Regions from separate parts of the Homo sapiens genome. Here regions 2 and 3 are each linked to region 1. Evidence: promoter capture Hi-C in human tissues and cell types (Jung and others, 2019). All regions are on one chromosome and are shown on one strand. Each heading gives the region's core, a stretch centred on a gene start or on the middle of the fragment in contact. The rest is flanking DNA. Distances are from core to core; before and after follow the strand shown.

Region 1 (3,885 bases), core at 504-3,003:
GGCACTCTGGCCTTTGGGTGGGAACTGTCTCCAAAACTCACCCCCAGGTTCCTGGCTCTCCTCACTTCAGGAGGGGGTGGGTCTGCCACGTAACCACCGCCCAGACCTCACAAGTGATAGCACTTCACCTTTTTGCTTCAGATATTTTAAAGAGAAATAACACCTTACAGATGCAGTCTCTTTCTAAACTTCCCAGATCCATTCCCTTTAAACAATCCTCCCTCAGCATGGTTTTTAGACTTGATTTGTTTTGTCTTAGAAATGGAGTCTTGCCATGTTCCCCAGGCTGGTCTCAAATTCCTGAACTGAAGTGGTCCTCACTCTGCCTCTCAAATAGCTGGGACTATAGGTTGCCCTCACCTCCTGCTGTGAGGTCAGTTCCTAACAGGCCACTGACCTGTAGCGGTCCACAGCCTGAGGGTTGGGGACCCCTGCTATAGGTGCACACCACCACACCTGTTTTTTTTTTTAATTTTGTAAAAATGAAGCCTTGATATGTCGCCCAGGCTGGTCTTGAACTCCTAGCCTCAAGTGGTCCTCCCACCTAGTCCTCATAAAGTACTGGGATTGTAGGCATGAGCCACTGCACCCAGTCTCCACTCCTATTTATTATTGAACACTATTCCATTGTATGGCTGATGTGGTTTGCATCTGTGTCCCCGCCCAAACCTCATGCTGAAAGGTAATACCCAATGCTGGAGGTGGAGACTGGTGGGAAGTGATTGGATCGTGGGGGTGGCTTTTCATGAATGGTTTAGTACCATGCCCTTAAGTTATGGTCTCATGATAGAGTTCTCCTGAGATCTGGTTGTCCACCTCCGCCTCCCAAAGTGCTGGGATTACAGGCGTGAGCCACCGCACCCAACCTGTCATTTTTATTATAACCCTTCTAATGGTATGAAATGGCACCTCCCCGTGGCTTCCATTCGCATTTCTCTAATAGCCAACAATGCCGAAGGCTTCATGTACCCATTACCCACTTTGTATCTTCCTTGATGTCTACTCACATCTTCTGCCCATTTAATTAGGTTGTTTCCCTTTTCAGAGTTTTTTTTTTTTTTTTAAGTTTTATTGGGCTATAATTCACATACCATATAATTCACCCATTTTGTACAATTCAATGATTTTGGCATATTATTTTTTAACTATGGTAAAGTACATGTTAAATAAAATGGCTCGGCCATTGTTTCGGACCGAGCTCCTGCGCTAGGGCCCAACAGAGCAGCCCAAAGCGGAACCGAGTCACGCGCGCCGGACGCCACCCGACAGGAGGGGAAACGGGGCAGCTCTCAAAACCCTGGAGGCGCAGACCGTCCACACGGGACAGGGACGCCCGCTCGGCTCCGCTCCGCGCTGATCCTCAAGGTCTCGCGGTTTCCCCGCCGCCCACCCGGACGCCGACGAAAGCCAGCGAGCTCCTCAGCCTCAGGTGACTGGAATTCTGACCCCAGACCACGGGACGCGTTCTCCCGCTTTACCCTCACTCTGCGCGGGCGGGGAGGGAGACGCGGGCGCAGGCCGCAGTTTCTACCTCAGAAACGGAAACACAACACCGCCTTCTTTTTCTTTGGGGAAAGAAAAAAAAAAAACTGTCTAAGACGAGGTCTGGGACCCCGCCGGCGACCCCCGATTCCCCCGGGCGGGGAGGGGGCGGGACCTGGCGCGGCCTCGGCTCCGCCCCTCGGGCCAGCGGACCACAGTGGGGCGGTCATTGCTGCCTTCCTAGAGCGGCCCGGAAGTGGCTCTCAGGGCGCTTCCGGGGACCAGGCCCGCTTTTGGCTGCATCAGCCGGGGATTGCCGGCGCCAGGTGCTGGGGGCGACTCGGACAGCGGGAGCGTGGGGTGGAGTAGGATGGAGTCTCCCTCCCGAGCTGGGGGTGTGGGCCTAGGAAAGGCTGCTTCGCCGCTGTGTTCGGAGAGCTCTGGATACTGCGGGGCTTTTCCGCGGAGGAGCGCCCGCCGGTAGGTTGGCCCCGAACCGTGGGGGCGGCGACGGCCGAGTGCCAATTTGACTCTGTGCACCAAGGTCCCCGCGCCCCGGAACGGGCGACGCCGCGCCCCCATCAGAGCCGCGGGTACGGAGTCAGGGTGCGAACCCGGCCTTCCAAGCCGCGCGACCGGAAGCGGGCAGCTCGGAGGCCTTCCCGGATGGCTCTTTGGAGTGGGAAGGAGCTCCTGGTGCTGGCGGGACGGTGAAGGAGTTGGCAGTGGGTGGTCGTTGACTCCCAGGGAGAATGGGGCGCCGTGAAGCCCGTGGGGAGCTCCTGGGCTCCCCCAGCGCTGTGCAGAGTGGCCTGACAAGTGCCTCGAGGACAGGAGCTGTGCCCCGCTGAGCTCTGCTCCAGTACCTGGTGTGCTGAGGTGGGCACGTGCGTTTCCTCTGGCATAGCAGGTGCTTGTGCTGCTGCACTGCTCCTTCAGGTGCGTCGGAACCCTCTTTAGTTGCCGCACTTGCCTCTGTTGCCAGCCGTTGCTCAGCTCTTCCAGCCCGGGGGTTGGGGCTGTGGTGGAAACAGCTGGGACTTCTGAATAGACAGGTCTAGGCTTCAGTCCTTGACTTTGGCAGCTGTGTTTAGAGCTTTGATTTCTTTTTACTTTTCTTTTCTTCTTCCCTGCCTCCCCTCCCTCCCCCCTCCCTCCATTCGTTCGTTCCTTCCTTCCTTCCTCACAGCATCTCTGTTGTCCAGGCTGGAGTGCAGCGGCTCGATTTCGTCTCACTGCAGCCACGACTTCCTGGGCTCAAGGGATCCTCTGTCCTCTCAGCCTTCTGAGTAGCTGGGACTACAGACGTGCACCACCACGCCTGGCTAGTTTTTTAAATTTTTTGTAGAAACGGGGTCTTGCTATGATGCCCAGGTTGGTCTCCAACTCCTGGGCTCAAGCGATCCGCTGGCCTCACCTTCACAAAGTGCTGAGATTTCAGGCTTGAGCCACTGCACCTGGCCTAGAGCCTTATCTCCCTCTCTGTCAGGTGAGAATGGTAATTCTTCTTGCCCACTGTTGTGAAGGATTCAAGATTGAATAGTTAAATGGTCTCAGTGTGGTCTGTGGCGCCAGCTGCAGTGTCCCTGTGTTCCCCGGACCGTTCCCCTAGTTCATTCTTTCATCTATTAATTTACTTGGAGAACTTGTGCTGTTTCCTGGTCCTCCTCCCTGCCCCCTACTTCTCTGCCAATTCCTGCTTGTCCTTCATGCCTTAGATGTCACTTCCTCTGGGAGGCCTCCGCTCCTCCTGGGACTGACATGGACCCCTCTGCCACCTGCTTCCAGGGCCATCTCCGCAGCACTGACTGTCATTGGTAGTTCACACTGTCAGCATGCTGATGATGGGGACCATATCAACCCTCACTCGCTGGCCCAAAGGATGTGAGAGTCACTGGTCTTCTCTCCTCCACCCCACTCTAGGCATCTGCATCTGGGACCGACCTCCTGGGCTGGCTGATCAAAGAGGAAGCAGCAGCAATGTCTGCTGTGGGGGCTGCAACTCCATACCTGCATCATCCTGGTGATAGTCACAGTGGCCGAGTGAGTTTCTTGGGGGCCCAGCTTCCTCCAGAGGTGGCAGCAATGGCCCGGCTACTAGGGGACCTAGACAGGAGCACGTTCAGAAAGTTGCTGAAGTTTGTGGTCAGCAGCCTGCAGGGGGAGGACTGCCGAGAGGCTGTGCAGCGTCTTGGGGTCAGCGCCAACCTGCCGGAGGAGCAGCTGGGTGCCCTGCTGGCAGGCATGCACACACTGCTCCAGCAGGCCCTCCGTCTGCCCCCCACCAGCCTGAAGCCTGACACCTTCAGGGACCAGCTCCAGGAGCTCTGCATCCCCCAAGACCTGGTCGGGGACTTGGCCAGCGTGGTATTTGGGAGCCAGCGGCCCCTCCTTGATTCTGTG
Region 2 (3,885 bases), core at 999-3,498, 290 kb after region 1:
CTGCTGCTCAGAGAAACCAAAAGGAGTTGGCATTCCTGACTATCAGAACCAATTGCAGATGTTCATCTCTTGTTATTTGTGATGACATTTTACATGCTTCATCTGCAAAAATGTCTTTTTACACAGAGAGCTACTGCCAAATACTGGTGTCAGTCCATGAGCATATGATTTGGAAGGCATTTATCAAATTCTGCTGGATCTATATTTTGAGCTCAGAAAATATATCTGCTGCAAATTTGTGTGGGAATGGAAATCTCACTTTCTGTTTTAATTTTAGACACCATGGGAAGTAGATAAAGCAGCTTGACATTACTTATGATTCAGACATTAGTTGACATCGAAATAACTTTACTGCAATATAAGTTTCACACATATGCACTGTTTGATTTGTAATGTTAGGTTGAATTCATTAAGAAATGTTGTCAAGCCTACAACAAAAATTAATTTCCAAAGTCATTAATTGTGCACTTATTTATTTATTTATTTTATTATTATTTTTTTTAGATACAAGGTCTCGCTGTTACCCATGCTAGAATGCAGTGGTGTGATCACAGCTCACTGCAGCCTTGAACTCCTGGGCTCCAGTGATTCTCCTCCAGAGCAGCTAGGACTATAGGCATATGCCACTGTGCCCAGCTAATTTTCTTTTATTATTATTATTTTTTTTTTATAGAGATAAGGTCTCACTATCTTTCCAGGCTGGTCTTGAACTCCTCGTCTCAAGTGATCCTCCTAACTCAGCCCCCTAAAGCATTGGGATTTTAGGGCTGAGCCCTAAAATTTTAGGGTGCCAAGCCCTTTTCAGTGTTTAATAGTGGTTGAGGGAGGTTTTTCTCATGCAGAGACTTTTAGTCTTGGCCCAGAGTTTTCTAAAAAATGACAATAAAACTTTGCCACTGCGAAGCTGTTGAATTTTGTGTGGTCGGAAAGTGAGAATATTTATCATTGATTTCTGACAAAAATTCATGGAACTAATGATGGCTGAGTCATGAGAGTGCATGAAGTTCGTGTTGATGCCACTGTTTCAGTAACTCCTAATAGATTCAAATACTTTTCACAAAGTAGCTGCTAATGAAAAACACAATAAACATAGGCTTATATTTTCACATTATCTTCAGTTTTCATAAGCTTTGTAAGTTTGTCTAAGTAAGCCTTTTCTGATCCACATATATTCTTAGCATGATCAGTTGTAGTTCATCTTAGTAGATTCCACTTCAGGTCATACAAAATTAGTATTTTCACAACTTATTTGAAAATACTGTGTGTTCTAGTTGTTCCACATAGAGCAAGTGATAGAGGCTAATTCTTTGGTCACTTCAAGCTCAATATTGACTCCTTCAAACATAGCAGTACCAGTAACGTCTGTCAGCTCATCAAGAGCCAAGGAAACCACTGGAGTCCGATGGAAACCACTGGAGTTAGTCTGTGGAAACCACTGGAGTGAGTCCGATGGAAACCACTGGAGTGTGATGGAAACCACTGGAGTCCGATGGAAACCACTGGAGTGAGTCCGATGGAAACCACTGGAGTCCAATGGAAACCACTGGGGTGCGATGGAAACCACTGGAGTGAGTCCGATGGAAACCACTGGAGTCCGATGGAAACCACTGGAGTGAGTCCGATGGAAACCACTGGAGTCCGATGGTAACCACTGGGGTCCGATGGAAACCACTGGAGTGAGTCCGATGGAAACCACTGGAGTGTAATGGAAACCACTGGAGTGTGATGGAAACCACTGGAGTGTGATGGAAACCACTGGAGTCCGATGGAAACCACTGGAGTGAGTCCGATGGAAACCACTGGAGTGCGATGGAAACCACTGGAGTGCGATGGAAACCACTGGAGTCCGATGGAAACCACTGGGGTCCGATGGAAACCACTGGAGCGCGATGGAAACCACTGGAGCGCGATGGAAACCACTGGGGTCCGATGGAAACCACTGGAGCGTGATGGAAACCACTGGAGCGTGATGGAAACCACTGGAGCCCGATGGAAACCACTGGAGCACGATGGAAACCACTGGAGCACGATGGAAACCACTGGAGTGTGATGGAAACCACTGGGGTGAGTCCAATGGAAACCACTGGAGCCCGATGGAAACCACTGGGATGTGATGGAAAGCACTGGGGTCTGATGGAAACCACTGGAGTAAGTCCGATGGAAACCACTGGAGTAAGTCCGATGGAAACCACTGGAGTAAGTCCGATGGAAACCACTGGAGTAAGTCCGATGGAAACCACTGGAGTAAGTCCGATGGAAACCACTGGAGTGTGATGGAAACCACTGGAGTGTGATGGAAACCACTGGGGTCCGATGGAAACCACTGGAGTCCGATGGAAACCACTGGAGTGTGATGGAAACCACTGGAGTGTGATGGAAACCACTGGAGTGCGATGGAAACCACTGGAGTGTGATGGAAACCACTGGGGTGAGTCCAATGGAAACCACTGGAGCCCGATGGAAACCACTGGGATGTGATGGAAAGCACTGGGGTCCGATGGAAACCACTGGAGTAAGTCCGATGGAAACCACTGGATTAAGTCCGATGGAAACCACTGGATTAAGTCCGATGGAAACCACTGGAGTGTGATGGAAACCACTGGAGCGCGATGGAAACCACTGGAGCGCGATGGAAACCACTGGAGCGCGATGGAAACCACTGGGGTCCGATGGAAACCACTGGAGCGCGATGGAAACCACTGGGGTCCGATGGAAACCACTGGGGTCCGATCGAAACCACTGGAGTGTGATGGAAACCACTGGGGTCTGATGGAAACCACTGGAGTCTGATGGAAACCACTGGAGTGTGATGGAAACCACTGGAGTGTGATGGAAACCACTGGAGTGTGATGGACACCACTGGAGTGTGATGGAAACCACTGGAGTGTGATGGACACCACTGGGGTGAGTCCGATGGAAACCACTGGGGCCCGATGGAAACCACTGGGATGTGATGGAAAGCACTGGGGTCTGATGGAAACCACTGGAATGTGATGGAAACCACTGGAGTGTGATGGAAACCACTGGGGTCTGATGGACACCACTGGAGTGTGATGGAAACCACTGGAGTGTGATGGAAACCACTGGGGTGAGTCCGATGGAAACTGCTGGGGTGCGATGGAAACCACTGGGGTGTGATGGAAACCGCTGGGGTGCAATGGAAACCACTGGGGTCCTAGGGCTGTTGTGTTGCTCTCACTGTCCTCAACTCCTCAAGCAGCTGCTCTTGCCAAAAGGCTAATAGTCTTAAGCAAGTTTATCATCTCTCGACACAGTTTTAGATGCCATAATCAACACAATGTAATTAATTTCCCATCAGTGAACAGTTTTCCTTGCTTGGCTAACAAGTGAGCCACATTAGAACATACGTTAGTGTAAGGGTCATTTTTATTTTTGTAAAGTAATTCTGCCGTGATGAAATACTCCACTTGAGAGTTTCTGTTTCTGTTTAAAATGTTTCTGACAGTTGTGTAAGTTGAGTCTGTTGTGACGAGTACTTGCTCTAGTAGTGTTGACGTCATGCTCCTTTAGCACAGCCATAGCATCACCGCCTCAGGAACATGATATTCATCTAACTCAGTAACAGAGTAACCCGCGCACCGCTGGTCCTCGAGAGCATAACATTGAAGGCCCACTTGCAGGACCCCAGTCATCTTTTGGTGACGAGTCAGAAATGGTAGGAGGGTTAGATACAGATACAGCAATCTTATAGATGTCTTTGCCTATATGGTTTTCCATCTCGGCATATTCCATATTTCTAGCTTTTTGTTCTGTACCGTAATTATGTGTTTGAAGATATTGACCACCAGCCAACTTTAACGTTTGCCATTTGTTTTTTTATTTTGTTTTGTTTTTTTGAGACGGAGTCTCGTTTTGTTGCCCAGG
Region 3 (3,885 bases), core at 391-2,890, 270 kb after region 1:
GGATGCATGGGTCCATGGGAACGCCTCCTGGCAGCATCTTTGCTGAGAGGCTCTTGGTGCCTCTAAGGGTTTTTGTTTCCGTGTAGAAACATGGAAGAGGCCTCAGAAACGTTACTGAGCTGGAGGCTGTGCCCCCAGCGGGGGTCTGAGGGCCGGGTGGAGACTCTGCCCCCCATCGGGGGTCTGAGAGCCAGCTGGGCCCTTGGCCTTGCTGATCTGGGGGATCCTTGGGAGAACACAGCTTGGGAGTCCAGCAGCACTTAGCTGGGCCTGAGGCCCCTCCAGACCCCGACCCAGTGTGGAGGTGGCGGTCCAGTTGCAGCGGAGGGGCTACTGAGCAGGTGTGCAGTGATGACTCGCAGGCCTGTGCCACGATCCTGCAGGACGGAGCAGTGGGCAGTGAGGTTGTGGCCTGGGTGCCTGTGAGGACAGGAGCCTGCAACCACAGCCAGTATGTCCCTACCCCACGTGGGGCCCAGGACCCCCCAAAGGGCTGCACCACCCTGAGGCGCTGGCGGCTCCGGGGGCTTCCCCGGTTGCGGGTGCTCAGGAGCACAGCAGTCAGGGGCGGACTGGGCTTGGGTTTGCTTTCCTCTATGACAGGATTTCTGGGTTTCGCAGCTGGGGCTGGAGCCGGGGTCTGCAGGGGTGGGAGGCGCGGGCCCAGGCCGCCGTGGCTCCAGCCGCCTTAACCCTGTCTCTCCCCAGGTTGGAGTGGGTGGAGATCATCGAACCGCGCACCCGCGAGCGCATGTACGCCAACCTGGTCACCGGTGAGTGCGTGTGGGACCCGCCGGCCGGCGTCCGCATCAAGCGCACCAGCGAGAACCAGTGGTGGGAGCTGTTCGACCCCAACACGTCCCGCTTCTACTACTACAATGCCAGCACGCAGCGCACGGTGTGGCACCGGCCGCAGGGCTGCGACATCATCCCGCTGGCCAAGCTGCAGACGCTGAAGCAGAACACGGAGTCCCCGCGCGCCTCGGCGGAGAGCAGCCCCGGGCGCGGCAGCAGCGTCAGCCGTGAGGGCAGCACCAGCTCCTCCCTGGAGCCCGAGCCCGACACTGAGAAAGCGCAGGAGTTGCCAGCGAGGGCCGGGCGGCCCGCGGCGTTTGGGACAGTGAAGGAGGACAGCGGCAGGTGAGGGCGGGGGCAGCTGCTATGGGCGGGGCCAGGTGAATGGAGTGGGCGGGGCCAGGTGAGGCAGGTAGGGGGTGGTGGGCGGGGCCAGGTGAGAGCGGGACTGGTGAAGGTGGTGGGCGGGGCCAGGTTAGGAGTAGGTCGGGTATGGTGGGCGGGGCCAGGTGAGTGGAATGGGCGGGGCCACGTGAGAGCGGGACTGGTGACGGTGGTGGGCGGGGCCAGGTGAGGAGTAGGTCAGGTATGGTGGGCAGGGCCAGGTGAGGGCGGTGGGCGGGGACCCAGGGGACTCAGTGTCCCCGCGAGTGGCCAGAGCCTCGTCCTTGGCTGTAGCAGCCACCGCTGCTGTCCCCAGTGAGCACTTTCTTGTCTCTCTGGGCAGCAGAGCCTGGCGCTCAGCCTCAGAGGGTTCTGGGTCCTCCAACCCTGCCCCTCACTGGCCCAGCCCCTGGCAGGTGGTGGTTCCTGAGAGCAGTGTCTGAGGGGCTCGCCCAGCTCTCTCTGCTGATGGGAGATGCAGATGTGGGGATTTGCGTGCGGGCGTGGGGTGTGTGGACCTAGGGGGACCCAGGTGGAGGGTGTAGATCAGTGTGGACACAGCTGAGGGGTCTGAGCAGGCTTGGAGGTGGTCCTCTGGAGTCACAGTGGCTCCGAAGGAGCACAGCCTGTGTTGGTGGGAGCCCAGGAGACCCCTGCCCTCAGAAACAGGGAGAGGTCAGGGTAGAGCGCAAGGGCCTCGAGGTGAGTGCACCGTGGGAAGCGAGTCCAGAGAGGACGGTGGGGAAGAGCCGAGGCAGGCGGGCAGGACAGTGGGGAAGGGCTGAGGCAGGCGGCAGGCCAGCAGGACAGTGGGGAAGAGCCGAGGCAGGGACAGGAGGCTGGGGCTTCCCAGAGCCCAGGCTGTGGCCCAGGGCAGACAGGCCTGGCCACTGCAGGGGCGGATGGAGGCCACTCTGGAGAGGATGGAGGAGAGGCTGGACCCCAGGGAGAGAAAGGCAGGGGATTGGTCTCCCCCAGTACCAGATTTTCGGTGCTTGGCTGAGGTTGCCAGGGGAGCTGAGGCCCAGGGGCTTTCTGCAGAGGTGGGAAGGAGCGTGTTGGACTGCCGGGCTCATCTGAGGCTTCAGAAGAGGGATTCAGAGTGAACCACAGAGCTCAGAGGACAGCAGGCTTCCGTCCCACCGTGCCGAGGTGCAGGCACAGAGGGAGGCGGGCAGCAGGTTCATCCCGTGGACCCGGTCTGGCAGGATGAAAGGGAGGCCAGGGATGGGGCCTGCTGCAGAGTGGGCAGGAGGTGGGGCAAATCAGGTGTGGAGGAGCCACTGGAGCACACCGGGAAGACGGTGTTGGTGTCGGTATTCAGGGCAGGGTGAGCAGCGGAGGCTCGGGCGTGGCGTGGGTGAGCGAGCGGTGCAGAAGGCGGGCACAAAGAGGACCAGGGCCTACATTTCACATCCCACCAGCAAATATGAGGGTTCAAAGTTATCCACGGCCTTGCCAACACTACTTGCTTTCCTTTTTAGATTTCTTTTAGCTATTGTAGCCACTGTGAAATGTCTCATTGTAGTTTTGGTTTGCATTTCCTTAATGACTAATGACTTTGAGCCTTTTTTCACTTTCTTTTTTTTTTTTTTTTTTTTTTTTGAGACAGAGTCTCGCTCTGTCGCCCAGGCTGGAGTGCAGTGGCACGATTGCTGCTCACTGCAAGTTCCGCCTCCCGGGTTCACACCACTCTCCTGCCTCAGCCTCCCGAGTAGCTGGGACTACAGGCACCTGCCACCACGCCCAGCTAATTTTTTGTGTTTTTAGTAGAAACAGGGTTTCACCATGTTAGCCAGGATGGTCTTGATCTCCTGACCTCGTGATCCACCCACCTCCCAAAGTGCTGGGATTACAGGCATGAGCCACCACGCCTGGCCCCTTTTTTCACTTTCTTGATGGTATCATTTGAAAAACAAAGGTTTTTGTTGTTTTTGTTTTGTTTGTTTGTTTGTTTGTTTTTGAGACAGGGTCTCTCTTTGTCTCTGGGGCTGGAGTGCAGTGGTGCAATCTCACTGCAGCCCTCACCTCCCGGGCCCAGTGACCTCCCACCTCAGACCCCCAAGTATCTGGGACTGCAGGCACGTGCCACCACACCAGGCTAATTTTTGTATTTTTTTTGTAGAGATTGGGGTTTCACTATGTTGCCCAGGCTGGTCTCCAACTCCTGAGCCCAGGCAGTATGCCCACCTATGCCTACCAAAGCACTGGGATTACAGACATGAGCCAAAGTACATGAGCCAAAGTGTGCATGGCCAAAGTACAAAGTTTTTAATTTTGGCCAAGAAAAGTGGCACACGCCTGTAATCCCAGCACTTTTCAAGGCCAAGGAAGGCAGGAGTTTGAGGCCAGGAGTTTGAGACCAGCTTGTCCAACGTGGCAGAACCCTGTCTCTACTAAAAGTACCAAAATTAGCTGGGAGTGGTTGTTCACACCTGTAATCCCAGCTACTCGGGTGGCTGAGGCAGGAGAATCACTTGAAGCCAGGAGGTGGAGGTTGCAGTGAGCCGAGATCGCACCACTGTACCCCAGCCTGGGTGACAGAGCAAGACTTTGTCTCAAAAACAAACAAACAAAAATTGACCTGTCATAGATTTGGGTTCATTTCTGGCCTCTCAATTGATTTGCATTGATCCATATCCCAGTACCACATTGTTTTGATCACTGTAGCTTTGTAATAAGTTTTGAAACTGGAAAGTGTGAGTC

What was found. Contacts are between HindIII fragments. The study calls those that stand out against the background at their distance.
Region 2: a contact is called between a fragment that was not itself captured here and the fragment with the promoter of COMMD5 in region 1, in 3 of the 25 tissues and cell types used here (dorsolateral prefrontal cortex, lymphoblastoid cells and spleen).
Region 3: a contact is called between a fragment that was not itself captured here and the fragment with the promoter of COMMD5 in region 1, in 2 of the 25 tissues and cell types used here (dorsolateral prefrontal cortex and lymphoblastoid cells).

What each region holds. Positions count from the first base shown.
Region 1 is chr8:144,850,916-144,854,800 of GRCh38, reverse strand. COMMD5 (COMM domain containing 5) reads left to right here and starts at 1,753. Exons shown (of 2, transcript NM_014066.4): 1 at 1,753-1,962; 2 at 3,406-3,885. The coding sequence starts at 3,463. RefSeq lists enhancers at 1,133-1,232, 1,783-2,112, 1,690-2,538 and silencers at 1,523-1,712, 3,745-3,885. The HindIII fragment of the contact is 6,847 bases long and covers 1-3,885 here.
Region 2 is chr8:144,560,407-144,564,291 of GRCh38, reverse strand. The region is part of intron 3 of ARHGAP39 (Rho GTPase activating protein 39); the gene reads left to right. Among named protein-coding and RNA genes, the nearest start is that of C8orf82, 33 kb to the right of the region's middle. The HindIII fragment of the contact is 5,044 bases long and covers 1-3,885 here.
Region 3 is chr8:144,578,101-144,581,985 of GRCh38, reverse strand. It overlaps ARHGAP39 (Rho GTPase activating protein 39), which reads left to right. Exons shown (of 12, transcript NM_025251.3): 3 at 709-1,140. Among named protein-coding and RNA genes, the nearest start is that of C8orf82, 51 kb to the right of the region's middle. The HindIII fragment of the contact is 7,795 bases long and covers 1-3,885 here.